Linked DNA regions of Homo sapiens: region 1 is linked to region 2. Evidence: promoter capture Hi-C in 16 types of primary human blood cells and fetal thymus (Javierre and others, 2016). All regions are on one chromosome and are shown on one strand. The core of a region is centred on a gene start or on the middle of the fragment in contact, and the rest is flanking DNA. Distances in the headings are between cores, read along the strand shown. Region 1 overlaps WDR47 (WD repeat domain 47). Region 2 holds the start of SORT1 (sortilin 1).

Region 1 (6,760 bases), core at 3,534-6,033, 370 kb before region 2:
TGGGATAATCGCTTGAGTCAAGAAGGTCATGGCTGCAGTGACCATGATCATGCCACTCCACTCCAGCCTGGCAGCCTAGGTGACATAGCAAGACCCTGTTTCAAAAAAAAAGTAAAAAGAATTTTAAAAGCTGGGAGTGGGCCAGGCATGGTGGCTGTCAGCATTTTTGGAGGCCGAGGCAGACAGATCACCTGAGGTCAGGAGTTCAAGACCAGGCTGGCCAACATGGCGAAACACCATCTCTACTAAAAATACAAAAATTAGCCAGGCGTGGTGGCAGGTGCCTGTAATCCCAGCTTACTCGGGAAGCTGAGGCAGGGAGAATTGCTTGAACCTACAAGGCACGTTACAGTGAGCCGAAGTCACGCCACTGCAGTCCAGCCTGGGCGACAGAGTGAGACTCTGTCTCAAAAAAAAAAAAAAAAAAAGCTGGGAGTGGTGGCTCACACCTGTAATCCCAACATGTTAGGAGGCTGAGGCACCATGGTGAAAATCCATCTCAACTGGGGGTGATTTTGCATTCTGTCAGGACATTTGGCAACATCTAAAGACATTTTTGGTAGTCACAACTGGGGATACTACTGGGATCTAGTGGGTAGATCTACTGGGATCTAGTTGGGGATGCCGTTAACATCCTACAACAAAGGACAACCCTCCACAACAAAGAATTATCTGGCCCAGATGCTAGCAGTGCCAAGGCTGAGAAACTCTGCTCTACATTGTGAATTCTATGTGAAATCTACAGCTTTGAGAATACAGTTTACACTGAGAATGAAAACAGCAAGGAATAAGAACAAGTTTCATCCTACTTTAAATGGTCTATGGGAATATCCAAAAGTTACAAGGCATTCTTACATCTTTTCTTACACAACGGCAATTTCCCTATTTTTGAATGTTTTAGAACAGAGAAATTTTAAATGGGAAGGATGGGCAGGAAGACCTACATAGGATTAACAATATGCTGCAAAGAAGAAATATTAATAAAAGCAAGATGGGCACAGTGGCTCATGCCTGTAAATCCTAGCACTTTGGGAGGCCAAGGTGGGAGAATCATTTGAGGCCAGGAGTTCAAGATCAGCCAAGGGCAATATAGCAAGATCCTACCTTTATAAAAAAAAAATTAACATAAAGAAATTTTTTAAATAAAAATAAGGCAATCACTGTATATCATAATCATTTTATAAAGGTGCATTTCAATATTTAAAATGTAAGAAAGGACACAATTTCAAAGGCAAGCCCTTTAAGATGAACATATTTAGTTGTTTTTTTTTTTTTTTTTTTGAGACAGAGTCTTGCTCTGTCGCCCAGGCTGGAATGCAGTGGCACGATCTCAGCTCACTGCAAGCTCACGATCTCGGCTCACTGCAAGCTCTGCCTCCTGGGTTCACACCATTCTCCTGCCTCAGCCTCCCAAGTAGCTAGGACTACAGGCACCCGCCACCACGCCTGGCTAATTTTTTGTATTTTTAGTAGAGACGGGGGGTTTCACCGCATTAGCCAGGATGGTCTCGATCTCCTGACCTCGTGATCCACCCACCTTGGCCTCCCAAAGTGCTGGGATTACAGGCGTGAGCCACTGTGCCCAGCCGAACATATTTAGTTTAATGAAAAACCTACTATTTTATTATTCTTTGCATTTCACCTCAGACCAGTAAAATTTCATCATAAATCAAGCAGGAGGGTACTTGAGAGCTGCCACTGTTAACTTCTAGGAGTATTAATGCTTCAAAGATAGTGCTTAAAAAAATACTACACTATTAACTAAGCTCCCTGGGGCTGGATGATATTCATAACACAAAATATAGGGAAGTGCAACAAGTTTAAATAGAGTCCCCTAATATAATAAAGCTTTGTTATTGCTGTTATTGTTGTTGTTGTTGAATGGTTCCTTTTCATAAGCTAGGAACACTTCATTTTTTTTTTTTTTTCTGAGATGGAGTTTCCTTCTTGTCGCCCAAGCTGGAATACAATGGTACGATCTCAACTCACTGAAACCTCTGCCTCCTGGGAGGAACACTTCATTTCTTGAGGCTTTCCAAGTCACAAAATGCCACATGTCCAAGAATCTGTACTTCTTGTCAAGGATATTTGGTATCTCATAAAAATAGAATACACTTCTGCCTGCAAATTTGGGATTTTCCGTTTCTATCCAATTCAGACTAGAATATATTTAGCTTTCCATTTTGGCAAACATGTTACTTCACTTTGCCTTGCAATTCCACCTCTAAGAATCTTGTCCTAAGGAAATAATCCAATATATAGAAAAAGTCTCAGCTAGGTGCAGTGGCTCATGTCTGTAATCCCAGCACTTTGGGAGGCCGAGGCAGGCAGATCACCTGAGGTCAGGAGTTTGAGACCAGCCTTGCCAAAATGGTGAAACCTTGCCTCTACTAAAAATACAAAAATTAGCCGGACGTGGTGGTGTGCACCTGTAGTCCCAGCTACCTGGGAGGCTAAGGCGAGAGAATCACTTGAACCCAGGAGGTGGAGGTTGTAGTGAGCTGAGATCATGCCACTGCACCCCAGCCTAGGTGACAAAGCAAGCCTCTATCTCAAAAAAAAAAAAAAAAAGGCGCAAGTATAAAATGTTCTGTAGAGCAATTATTTAAGATAAATTGGGAACAATTGTTTAAAATTAGGGGAGCCATTAGGAAATTAAGTAAACTGAAATTTTTTATTTGTAGCTGGAATTACAGGCATGCACCACTATGCCCAGCTAATTTTAGTATTTTTAATAGAGACGGGATTTCACCACGTTGGCCAGGCTGGTCTCGAACTCCTAACCTTAAGTGATCCACACGGCTCAGCCTCCCAAAGTGCTGGGATTACAGGCGTAAGCCACCACGCCTGGCCTTTTTTAATTTATTATTTATTTAATTTATTATTTATTTATTTATTTAGTCTTGCTCTGTCGCCCAGGCTGGAGTACAGTGGCACCATCATGGCTCACTGCAACCTCTGCCTCTCGGGCTCAAGTGATTTTCCTGCCTTAGCCTCTCGAGTAGCTGGGACTAGAGGCATGCACCACCACACCCAGCTAATTTTTGTATTTTTAGTAGAGACGGGGTTTCACTACGTTGGCCAGTCTGGTCTCAAACTCCTGACCTCAGGTGATCCGCCTGCCTTGGACTCGCAAATGGCTAGGATTGCAGGTTTGAGTCACCATGCCCAGCCTGAAAATTTTTTAAATATAAGTTTGTAATCACACAGAGAAACCTTGTGATGTTAATAGATAAGGCATGATTCTAAATCATAAACACAACAGAATTGTTATTTTTAATAGATGCAAAAAAAAGATGCACAGAATTTACACTCTAAGAATGAAAACAGCAAGGAATAAGAACAATATTATGTCTGTGTGGTGGGGTAATTTTTCTTTTATTTATCTTTCTATATTTTCTATAATGAACACATCTTATTTCTATGGCCAAAAAATGGTATTTCAGAAACATTTTCTTTACCTTTTCAAAGTCCGATTTTCTTAGTCAAATATCTTTTATTATCATACCACAACCACAATGGAGTGATGACTCTTGTTCTTTTTAACAGACCTCTGGGTCTTACTACTGAAAACATTCTACAGAAAGCATTATTTTGTAAATGTTCCTTTTTTTTATTTTTGTATTTTTGAGACGGAGTCTCACTCTGCTGCCCAGGCTGGAGTGCAACGGTGCGATCTCAGCTCACTGGAACCTCCGTCTCCCTGGTTCAAATGATTCTCCTGCCTCAGCCTCCCGACTAGCTGGGATTACAGGCATGTGCCACCATGCCCGGTTAATTTTTATATTTTTAGTAGAGGCGGGATTTCACCATGTTGGCCAGGCTGGTCTCAAAACTCCTGACCTCAAGTGATCCGCCTGCCTCAGCCTCCCAAAGTGCTGGGATTACAGGCGTGAGCCACCACGCCCAGCCTATTTTGTAAATGTTCTATTTTTAAAATATTTTTTTAGGTCGGGTGCGGTGGCTCACGCCTGTAATCCCAGCACTTTGGGAGGCCAAGGTGGGCAGATCACGAGGTCAGGAGATCGAGACCATCCTGGCTAACATGGTGAAACCCCATCTCTACTAAAAATACAAAAATTAGCTGGCCGTGGTGATGGGCGCCTGTAGTCCCAGCTACGCAGGAGGCTGAGGCAGGAGAATGGCGTGAACCCGGGAGGCGGAGCTTGCAGTGAGCCGACATCTCGCCACTGCACTCCAGCCTGGGTGACAGAGCAAGACTCCGTCTCAAAAAATAAAATAAAATAAAATATTTTTTAAAATTATACTTACATAGCCTTTTCATGATTATAAAGTTCTATCTGTATTATATATATTACCTTATTAATACTTAACATTTCTTCGAAGGAGCTACAAACTTCACAGTATAATGAAATCATACCTCAGGAAAAGCATATCATCTGAAAACAGGCCATTTATGACTCCACTTTCCTTCTCCAGGGCCAGCATACTAATGTGAAGCTTCTTTGAATTCAGGAAGTCCAAAATTAGCTTAATGATTTCAACCTCTTTTACATTCACTGTTTCTTCAGCCGTCATATTGATAGCCTAAATATGAAACAGAAAAACAATAAAGCTAGTCCTATTGATTTATTTCTAAGTTTAACTGCCTGGCAACTACACATAACAGGTTTACTGGGAATCTTTAGTACACATATTCTGAAGTGAAGTTAACTTAGTATTTATCAAAACCAAGTCGTTCTTTAATATGTGACAATGGTATGGCCATGATTTTTTAAAGTCCTTATCTTTGAAATACATATTGGAATAATTACAGATTAAATGATATAAACTTTGTGATTTACATGAAAATAATAGAAGAGAAGAGTGGGAAGAGATAAAGATGAAACAAGAATGATTATGGTTACTGAAGCAGGGTAATAGGTAAATGAGGGTTTATTATATAATCCTGTCTACTCCTACATGTTTAAAATTTTCCATAATAGAGAATATTTTAAAAAGTCATTAATAACCAAACCATGTTTAGCTATGTCCCAAATACATTGTCCCAGGTATGCTCTAATACATTCACTCAATAAGTACTTAATGCCTTTTCTCTGTGACAGACATGATTCTGTACTCAGGAGACATTGGCCTTGCTTTAAGAAGCTTTAGTCTAGCAGTAATACCTAAATGATGACCTGGTCAGTACAGCGGAGCCAAACAAAACAAGGTTAGTTAAGATGTGCAACTTTAGGGCAGGTGTAGTGGCGTACGCCTGTAATCCCTGTACTTTGGGAGGCCAAAGTGGAGGGACTGCTTGAGTTCAGGAGTTCGAGACCAGCCTGGGAACCATGGCAAAACCACATCTGTACAAAAAAAATTAAAAAATTAGCAGGGCAAGATGGTGTGTGTCTATAGTCCCAGCACTCTGGAGGCTGAGGTGGGAGGATCGCTTGAGCCCAGGAGATCAAGGCTGCAGTGAGCAAAGATCGTGCCACTGCACTACAGCCTGAGCAACAGAATTAGACTCCGTCTCAAAAAAAAAAGAAAGAAAAAAGTGCAACTTTAGTCATATGGGTAATATCAGTGATATTTCAATACTCTCTAAGCTTCCTTCTAACTCTTACCTGTAGGTCTGCTACAACTGAGCACATAATGCTCAGGTTATGAATCCATAAAGATTTAGACCTGGGAGGACTATAAGATCATTTGTTCAACATTCTAATTTTACCAGTGAAGCCACACAAGTTAAATGGCCTAAACTGTTACAGTTTTCAAATGTTAAGGTTCAGAGCAATGCAAAATACCACCACACTAGGGGAGTAGCCACAAAGAAACTTCATCAGATGAAACAGACTATAAGCATATCTTTCTCACAGGACCAACTTATTCTAACCAAGCTTGCAGAAACATAAACATACACATGTGGACTGGGTGTAGTGACTCACGCCTGTAGTCCCAGCACTTTGGGAGGCTGAAGCAGGAGGATCGCTTGAGCCCAGAAGTTAGAAGTTACATACAGTGAGCTATGATCACACCACTGCACACCTCTGAACAACAGAGGAAGACCATGTCTCTAAACAAAACAAAACAAAAAATATATGTAGGCCCACAGGTTAGTGTTGTTTCCATTTCTTTACTTTTGGGTTGATTTTTTTGTTTATAACAAGAAATGCAAATGTCTAGCAGACTAGAATGCTCTCATCAGCAGATGAGTACATTTTCTCCCTCAGCTAGAGGCCTGGGCATGGTGGCTCACACCTGTAGTTCCAGCACTTTGAGAGGTCGAGGTGGGAGGATCACATGAGCCCAGGAGTGCGAGACAAGCCTGGGCAACATGGCGAAACATGGTCTCTACCAAAAATATAACAATCAGCCAGCATGTGTGCCTGTAGTTCCAGTTACTCAGGAGGCTGAGGTGGAAAGATCACTGGAGCCCCAGAAGTTGAGGCTACAGTGAGCGGTGATCATACCACTGCACTCCAGCCTGGGCGGTAGCGTGAGACTCTGCCTCAAAAAAAAAAAAAAAAAAAAGAAGGCTGGGCACAGTGGCTCACACCTGTAATCCCAGCACTTTGGGAGGCTGAGACGGGTGGATTATGAGATCAGGAGTTTGAGGCCAGCCTGGCCAACATGGTGAAACCCCACCTCTACTAAAAATACAAAAATTAGCGGAGCGTGGTGGCACGCACCTGTAATCCCAGCTACTTGGGAGGCTGAGGCAGGAGAATTGCTTGAACCCAGGAGGCGGAGGTTGCAGTGAGCCAAGATTGTGCCACTGCACTCCAGCCTGGGCAATAGAGCCAGACTCCATCTC
Region 2 (7,271 bases), core at 993-3,492:
TTTGGCCTTAGAACCCCTGAGCCAGTTTTTTCAACCTCTTTCTTTGGAATCAATATATTACAAATGACACATCAATTCAAACTAACCAGGAAGACTCTGACTCAAGGAATAAATCCAGGCAGGGCATAGTGGCTCACGCCTCTAATCTCAGCACTGTGGCAGGCTAAGGTGGGTGGAGCACTTGAGCCCAGGAGTTCAAGACCAGCCTGGGGAACATGGCAAAACCCTGTTTCTTAAAAAAAGAAAGAAAGAAAGAAAAGAACAATTAGCTGGGTGCATGTACCAGTAGTCCCGGCTACTTGGGAGGCTGAGGTGAGAGGATCACTTGAGCCCAGGAGGTCAGGGCTGCAGTGAGCTGTGATCACACCACTGCATTCCAGCCTGGGCAACAGAGTGAGACCCTATCTCAAAAAAAAAATAGTAATTACACAAAAATTAGCTAGGCATAGTGGTGCACACCTGTAGTCCCAGCTACTCAGGAGGCTGAGGTAAGACTCTATCTCACAAAAAAAGAGAAAAAGAAAAACAGGAGTAAATCTAAATCCAGGAGTAGCAGCAGACCTAAAGTTAGGTCAACCAGCGAGAGAAGAATTTGAAATATGGAGCAAGAATGCTGTGACCAGCTAGCTCAAGGAAGGAAGTGGTCCAGTATAAATTAAGCATTAGTGTTGTAAAGCCTTTCTCAATCCCCCACTGTGAGAAGGAAGTCTATTCGATTTTTTTTTCTCATCAAGTAGGAAGACTTCCCAGTACTCATTCTACCCAACCTGTCTCACCCTCCAGCACTAGCTTGGCTACCTTTACACAGCTGCTGCTCGGGATACACTAAGCACAATTATTCCTGAATATTTGTGTCTTGTGTCCTCAGATCAGAGAATTCTATTACAGGTAACAAGTATGGTCCAGATAACCAGGCAGTCCAAAGGGAGACTGAGGCTTGGCTGACGCTGAAAAACGGTTACAGAAGGACAAGTGCTGGCACAGAGCCTTGGCCACCCATCTCTGCCCCCAAGTGCAATTCATTTTCTTTGAAAGAGGAAAACAGGCAAGGGAGAAAATATATAGAATTGAAAATACATTATGCAAATGTGGCTAGCAAGGATTAAATTGTTAATTTTAGAGAAATAGGAGAAAGATGCCCAAGTTGTGCTGAAGCAAGGAACCAGGACTTTCTTAATAATTAGTTTTGTCAGTCCAGTAGTGTGCAAAGGTTGAGCTGCTTGTCCCCAGGGACAGAAATCCCATAATTTTGAAAGTCTTTTGACCAAGAGCTGGCTCAAAGCAGAATATGTGCAATGCGTTTCTTAACTATTGAAAATCTTGTCACCACGGGATATAGACATGCTAGTCAGACTTCCGTACCATGACAGAAGGTCAAATCTGAAGCAGTAAAAGAGATCACATAAATATTGCCATCTCATTTCCAAGCTAGTCCCCTTAACTATTAAAACACGGTGACCAGATCGCTGCTTCGGGCCTCCTGAACTCCCGCCTCTCCCACCCGGAAAGTACTGACCCAGAGAGGACACACCTTTGCTTCTGCGCAGCCCAACTTCTGCAAGCGCTCAAGAGTTAATTACTCCTTCACCTTCCTGGGGCCTAACAGCGTTACTGGGTCCTGATTATTTATACAGACGAAAAACGATGTTCAAGAGATTTTGACAACTTAAAAAAAAAAAAAAGAATGCGGTGGAAGTCTAAGATTGCCTCCCCTATGACAAAACACAGCCCCGCCGGCCGCCCGGGCCCGACTCCGCCCGCCCGCCCGCCGCAGTTTCGGGGCTGCGGCCCGGGGGACGCGGGCGCGGCAGGGCTGGGGTCTCCTCCGGGAGTCGCGGGGCGCACGGGCCGGGAGGGGCACGCGGGCGGCACCTCGCACCCGAGCGGCTCCCGGGCCCGGCGCCCGCTCACCTGGTGCGTGTTGTTGGCCAGCTTGGCGACGAAGTCCCGGACCCGGCCGCACTCCTCGTCCTCGCCCGGCGCGCTGCGACGCCAACGGCCGCCGCGGGGAAACGCGCCCCCGGCTGCGGCCGCCCGCAGCCCCCAGCTCACCCCGATGGGGCCAGACCAGCGCGGCAGCGGCGCAGCGGGCGGCGGCGGCGCGTCCAGCCGGTCCTGGCTGAGGGTCGACGGCGGCAGCAGCTGCAGGAGGAGGAGGAGGCCGAGGCCATGGGGCCAGCGCGAGAGGCCGTCCGCAGCTCCCCAGGGCCGCTCCATCGCCGCCGAATGCCGCCGACGCCGACACCTGCCGCCCGGCGCGCCCGCCCACCCCCGCCGGCGCGCGCCACACCCCCGAGCCGAGCGCGGCGCTCCTTGGATACGCGCGGCCGGGCCTCTCCGCCCCATAGGCTGGCCGCCTGTCCCTCTTCCCCGGCCCACTCCTCATTGGCTCGCGTCGCCTCCGGCTTCGGGGGTCCTGGATTCGGATGCTAAGATGCGGGACTGATTGGCTGGAACGGGGCAGAGACTGCTGAGGTCAACCCCGCCTCGCCCGGCGTCTCCCGGGCCCGGCTTGTGGAGTTCACGTAGGAGCTTCTCATACCTTCCCGCCGAGCCCCGGGCTCCTGGCGTCGCGACCCCTTGCCGCACCTCTAGCGCCCTCAAGTTGGGGCTGGGTTACGTCCCTCCTGTTCCCCAGAGACACTCCTAAAATTCCTTCGGTGAGGCAGAGCCTGGAAAAACCTACCCAGGAAATCCCTGAGCTTGCTCAGCTGGAAAAGGGGGCTCCATCATGAACCGGGGCTTCGGGTTTTTATAAACCCCGCTCACTGGAGCGCCCATTGTCTGCTAAGCAGCTGCCTTGCTGCAAGAAGGTGAATGCGAACTGATGTGGGCCACATCCTACGGAGACAGACATCAGGACATCCGTGACTCCTGCAAGCCTGAAGAATAGTCTTTCCATACGTTTGGCCTCTCTCACCTTCCTCTTCTGAGGGGAGGTAGGCCAAAGGCGGAATTACTTACAGGTTTTCCAGGACTTCGAATGTAGCTTAGGCATTAGGGGCAGGTAAAAGAGGGGCAAGAGAATGATCCAATGCCTACTGTACACATGATCATTTCCTAGATGCACATTTATTTTACCAAAGTGCCTTAACTCTGCAGTGAGAGCTTCGGACAAGTTTGGTTCCAGTATGTGATGTCCTCTAAATTAGCACCCCGATCCACCTCTAATGAATAAAATAAAACCCCTACGCTGTTCCCTTTACCGCAGAAGCTGCACACACAACTTCTACAACACGTAGCACAGGTAAAACCAGTTCTGAATCCTTAAGCTTACTGACTCCATCCCTTCAGAAAGCTAGAAATTGTTCAGTAGAAAAGGTAGCAAATAGAAAGATACAAAATATGCAAGTCATTACACTCAAAGCAAGTAAAGATTACTTTTAATTATAAACTGGCCATAAACCCAAATGAGGATATAGTCATTGTAGAGCAAAATGATACAATGCACCCAACCCGATATTTACATTAAAATATTTCCAGTCACATTAACTTTCAAACAAAAAGACTTAACGAATTTACAAATTTTTCCAAGACGTGAGAAGTGAAAAATGTTTTTGAATGCCATCTGAGCAGGATAGTAAAATCACTAGAATAGTCTTTTTAAGTTCTCAGTTACTGGACTGAAAAGATAAAGCTGATGAAAATTGGTGAACAATTTGTTCCTTTCCATAACTACTATCAGATTAATTTAAAAAAGATTATTTTTAAATCTATGCCAACTATGGGAGTAGATCACAAGACAGTCAGTTCCAGTAGCATGTGATTAGGTGGGGGGAGGAAAGGGGGTTATAAAGGAATATTTCTTTGTTTGGGTGACACAAAGATGAATGGTCTATTGTCTTACTGTCTGAAAAGAAAAAACAACTCAACAGTGCCACCTCCTGGAGAAATTACCAAATACACTTTTAAACGCTATTAAATTTGTTCCAATTATCTGTACCTTCACTTTTTAGTATGTTGCTTTTAGTTATCACAGGCTTACAGTACTTATATATTTCCTTCTTCAAACTGTATCAGCTTCTGGGACATGGTAACTTGCATATGGCACTGAGAAAATGTTTGAGTGAATATATTTATTATTTCACTTTTTAAATTGGAAACCCTAGGAACTATATTTCATTTTTGTCTAATGAGATTGACATTAAATATAAAAGTGGCACTGTCAGTTCTCCTTTGTGAGATACTGGACATAAGATTTCACCTTATTTGCAGGACTAAAGTAAATTTATCTTATTACTAAAAACCGTACCTTTCTCCAGGAAACATTCTATAGCAGAAAGATAACATAAAGCAATTACACATCATGAAACCATTGCTGTTCGTAGTAAGATCACTTCTTTAACCTAAGAAAGCTTGTTTTAATATTCTACAAAAAAATCAAAGTTCTACCTCTTTGAAGAATGCCAATTATAGAAGGTACGAAATTTACTGTTTTACCAGGTAAAACACAAATATGCTGCCCAGCCAGTGGGAGGGAAAACAACTTAAGCTGAGGCGAACGGACATAGGCTAAGAGCTACTCCTTAGTATTTGGGCATTTTTCCCCCTATGAAATGCATGTGATTCAGAGACACAACTCACCTCTCCCAAAAGCAACATGGGCTTTATCCATTTCTGCATTAACCTAGAGTTAAAAAGGAATATTGTTTATTGTTTGGCTCTCCCCACTAGAAGTTTCACAGGAGCACAGATCATATCTACCATTTGAACAGCTCTCTGCCTGATGGCTAATACATTTCTTGGCATATAGTAGGTAGGTGCTCAATAAATTTGTTACAGGAATAAATGAGATAGGATTTTCAAGGGTATTTTCTATTAGGATTTAATAAAACAAAGTGATCTTTAGAGAAACAAATCTCCCCATCAACATGCTATACTTAATAAGTGTTAAAATCACTAGAAGTCTCTGGAACATTCAGTAACAATATACTCTAATTCTCTGCTTTCCTTATGTGTTATTCTAGGGCAAAATCCCTTTCTTCCAAATGTTTCCTATCATTGCAGTTTCCAAATGTATATAAACATGTTGTTTTTTGTTGAACTACAGTATGGATTTAGTATGAATTCAGCCTATCCAAATAGTCATAATTTATTAACATATAGTACAACTTCCTACACATCAATATACCCAGAGCCCAGCAAATAATTATGGGGTCCCTGTTAGTGAATTAAATCAATTCTGCATCATCCACATATGGATTAGCCATGTTGTGGACAGTGCAAGTACTTTTCAAATCTCCAGATTTCCCTATTACTCAAGAGCTGGTGATCTGAAACAAGAAAATTTGAGCTGTTCAAGTCCCAACAGCTTAATTTTGTGTGTCCATGGGCACACAGCATTAGATTCTTCATCTGTTAAGTAGTGATACTGATACCATCTTCCCGTGGTAATTTTTGAGGCTGAGATAGAATGATTCTTTAAACAATCTCCACCAATCATATGATGGCAGCTCTAATGGGGAAAGTTCATCATTCATTCCAAAGTCTAATGTAAACTGCTTCTGAATTTTACAATTCTCTTACTGATATAGAGATTTGTAATTGATTGCCAGTGAGGCCAAGGTCATTAATTTAATTCTTAGTCCTTCACTTCGTAAACAAGGAAATCTCTTTCCAAATTGTCTATCAAGACCCAAGAACTGGTACAACACTGTTGATGGCTGATTCCAACCCATCAATGTTTTGAGGAGGACCTCAAAACATGTTCTTCTGATAGTCAATTAGTAGCATCTCCTTATAAGAAAAGCAGCAAAAATACACGTTTGCTCCAGAAATTATAGGGCCGAAATGGATTTACAGTGCTGTTAACATCTATTAACCACTGGGAAGAGCTGGACTAGTTCATTTATCAACACCATGGGATTAATGGATATAGTTGATTCTGTTATAGAGCATCACTAAAACAGTTTTAGAACAGACATCTTCATAGAATAGGGATATTAATAACACTGTCCTTTTGGCCCACTAACATTTGCATTTCAAACAAAAGACTGTATTACAATGGCTGGGCACAGTGGCTCTCGCCTATAATCCTAGCACTTCAGGAGGCAGAGGCGGGAAGATCACTTGAACCCAGGAGTTTGAAACCAGCCTGGGCAATATAGTGAGACCTCATCTCTTAAAAAAAAAAAAAAAAAAAAGACTATTAGAAGAGAACAGTCTATTAACAAATATTTTAAAATTTTCTTTATTTCAGAACTGCCTTTATGTACAGACATCATTTAAAAAATGCACATACAATGGAGATTTTCCAAGGAACAGGAGCTGGAAATAAAATTTAAGGACATTATTAGAACTGAAATTGTCCCAGAGAAGTTCTGAGGATCAGGATTCCTTAAATGTCCTTGATAACCTCTTCAAGTTCTTCCTTTGTGAACATGTGGAAATTCTGGCCAGGCTGCACTGTGGCTAGCTGGAAAGAAAACAGAAGGGTTAATAAGCTGGGCTGAGTTACCCTGCTGATGGCCCTACCATGGTCAGGAGAAGCTGTGTTGGTGATGCAGCTATTCATTAGGAACTAAGGGATCTGCTGTCCCAAGGATATCCTTTCCAGGCAGCAGGTCCCTAAAATAGCTCTCTGGCTCCAAAATAAAAATGCTTATTGACCAAATTTTCTATTTTAAGGTTAACTCACCACATCATACTTAACCAAATGCCTGGCATCATTGTCACTTCTTGAAGTCACTTCAACAGGGATCACAAAAGCAGCAGCAAAGTACATGGAGTCAGTACTTTTTTCTGTTAAAGACTCCTTTAGAAATATATTTGAAGTATATTTAAATACTTAAAAGTTGAGCTTGTGTGTGTGACTTGAGGTTACTTGGCCACTCTGTGCCTCTATTTCTTCATCTGTACAATGAGGACAATAAGAATAGCTAATTCATAGAGTAGTTGTGAGGATTAAATGTTAATATATATAAAGTGCTTAGACCATTATTGCCTACAACAAATAATCATTAACTATTGTCAGGTATTTTCTCTAAAATTGTTTATGTGGCAAAACTTAACAAAAAAGTTTTTTTTGTTTGTTTTTGGTTTTGTTTTGAGATGGAGTTTCGCTCTTGTTGTTCAGGCTGGAGTGCAATGGCGTGATCTAGGCTCACCGCAACCTCCGCCTCCCGGGTTCAAGCGATTCTCCTGCCTCAGCCTCTCGAGTAGCTGGGATTACAGACATGCGCCACCACACCCGGCTAATTTTGTATTTTTAGTAGAGACGGCGATTCTCCATGTTGGTCAGGCTGGTCTCGAACTCCCAACCTCAGGTGATC

The links. Contacts are between HindIII fragments. The CHiCAGO score rates a contact against its expected background, and 5 or more counts as called.
Region 1: a fragment that was not itself captured here is called in contact with the fragment with the promoter of SORT1 in region 2 in 1 of 17 cell types (M2 macrophages); the score reaches 6.2 in M2 macrophages.

The regions. Positions count from the first base shown.
Region 1 is chr1:109,018,974-109,025,733 of GRCh38, forward strand. It overlaps WDR47 (WD repeat domain 47), which reads right to left. Exons shown (of 15, transcript NM_001142551.2): 2 at 4,382-4,548. The coding sequence starts at 4,539. Among named protein-coding and RNA genes, the nearest start is that of WDR47, 20 kb to the right of the region's middle. The HindIII fragment of the contact is 648 bases long and covers 4,460-5,107 here.
Region 2 is chr1:109,395,676-109,402,946 of GRCh38, forward strand. SORT1 (sortilin 1) reads right to left here and starts at 2,243. Exons shown (of 20, transcript NM_002959.7): 1 at 1,912-2,243. The coding sequence starts at 2,217. It overlaps PSMA5 (proteasome 20S subunit alpha 5), which reads right to left. Exons shown (of 9, transcript NM_002790.4): 9 at 3,367-6,415. The coding sequence ends at 6,338. RefSeq lists silencers at 2,020-2,119, 2,130-2,199, 2,240-2,369 and an enhancer at 2,396-3,377. The HindIII fragment of the contact is 10,275 bases long and covers 1-3,270 here.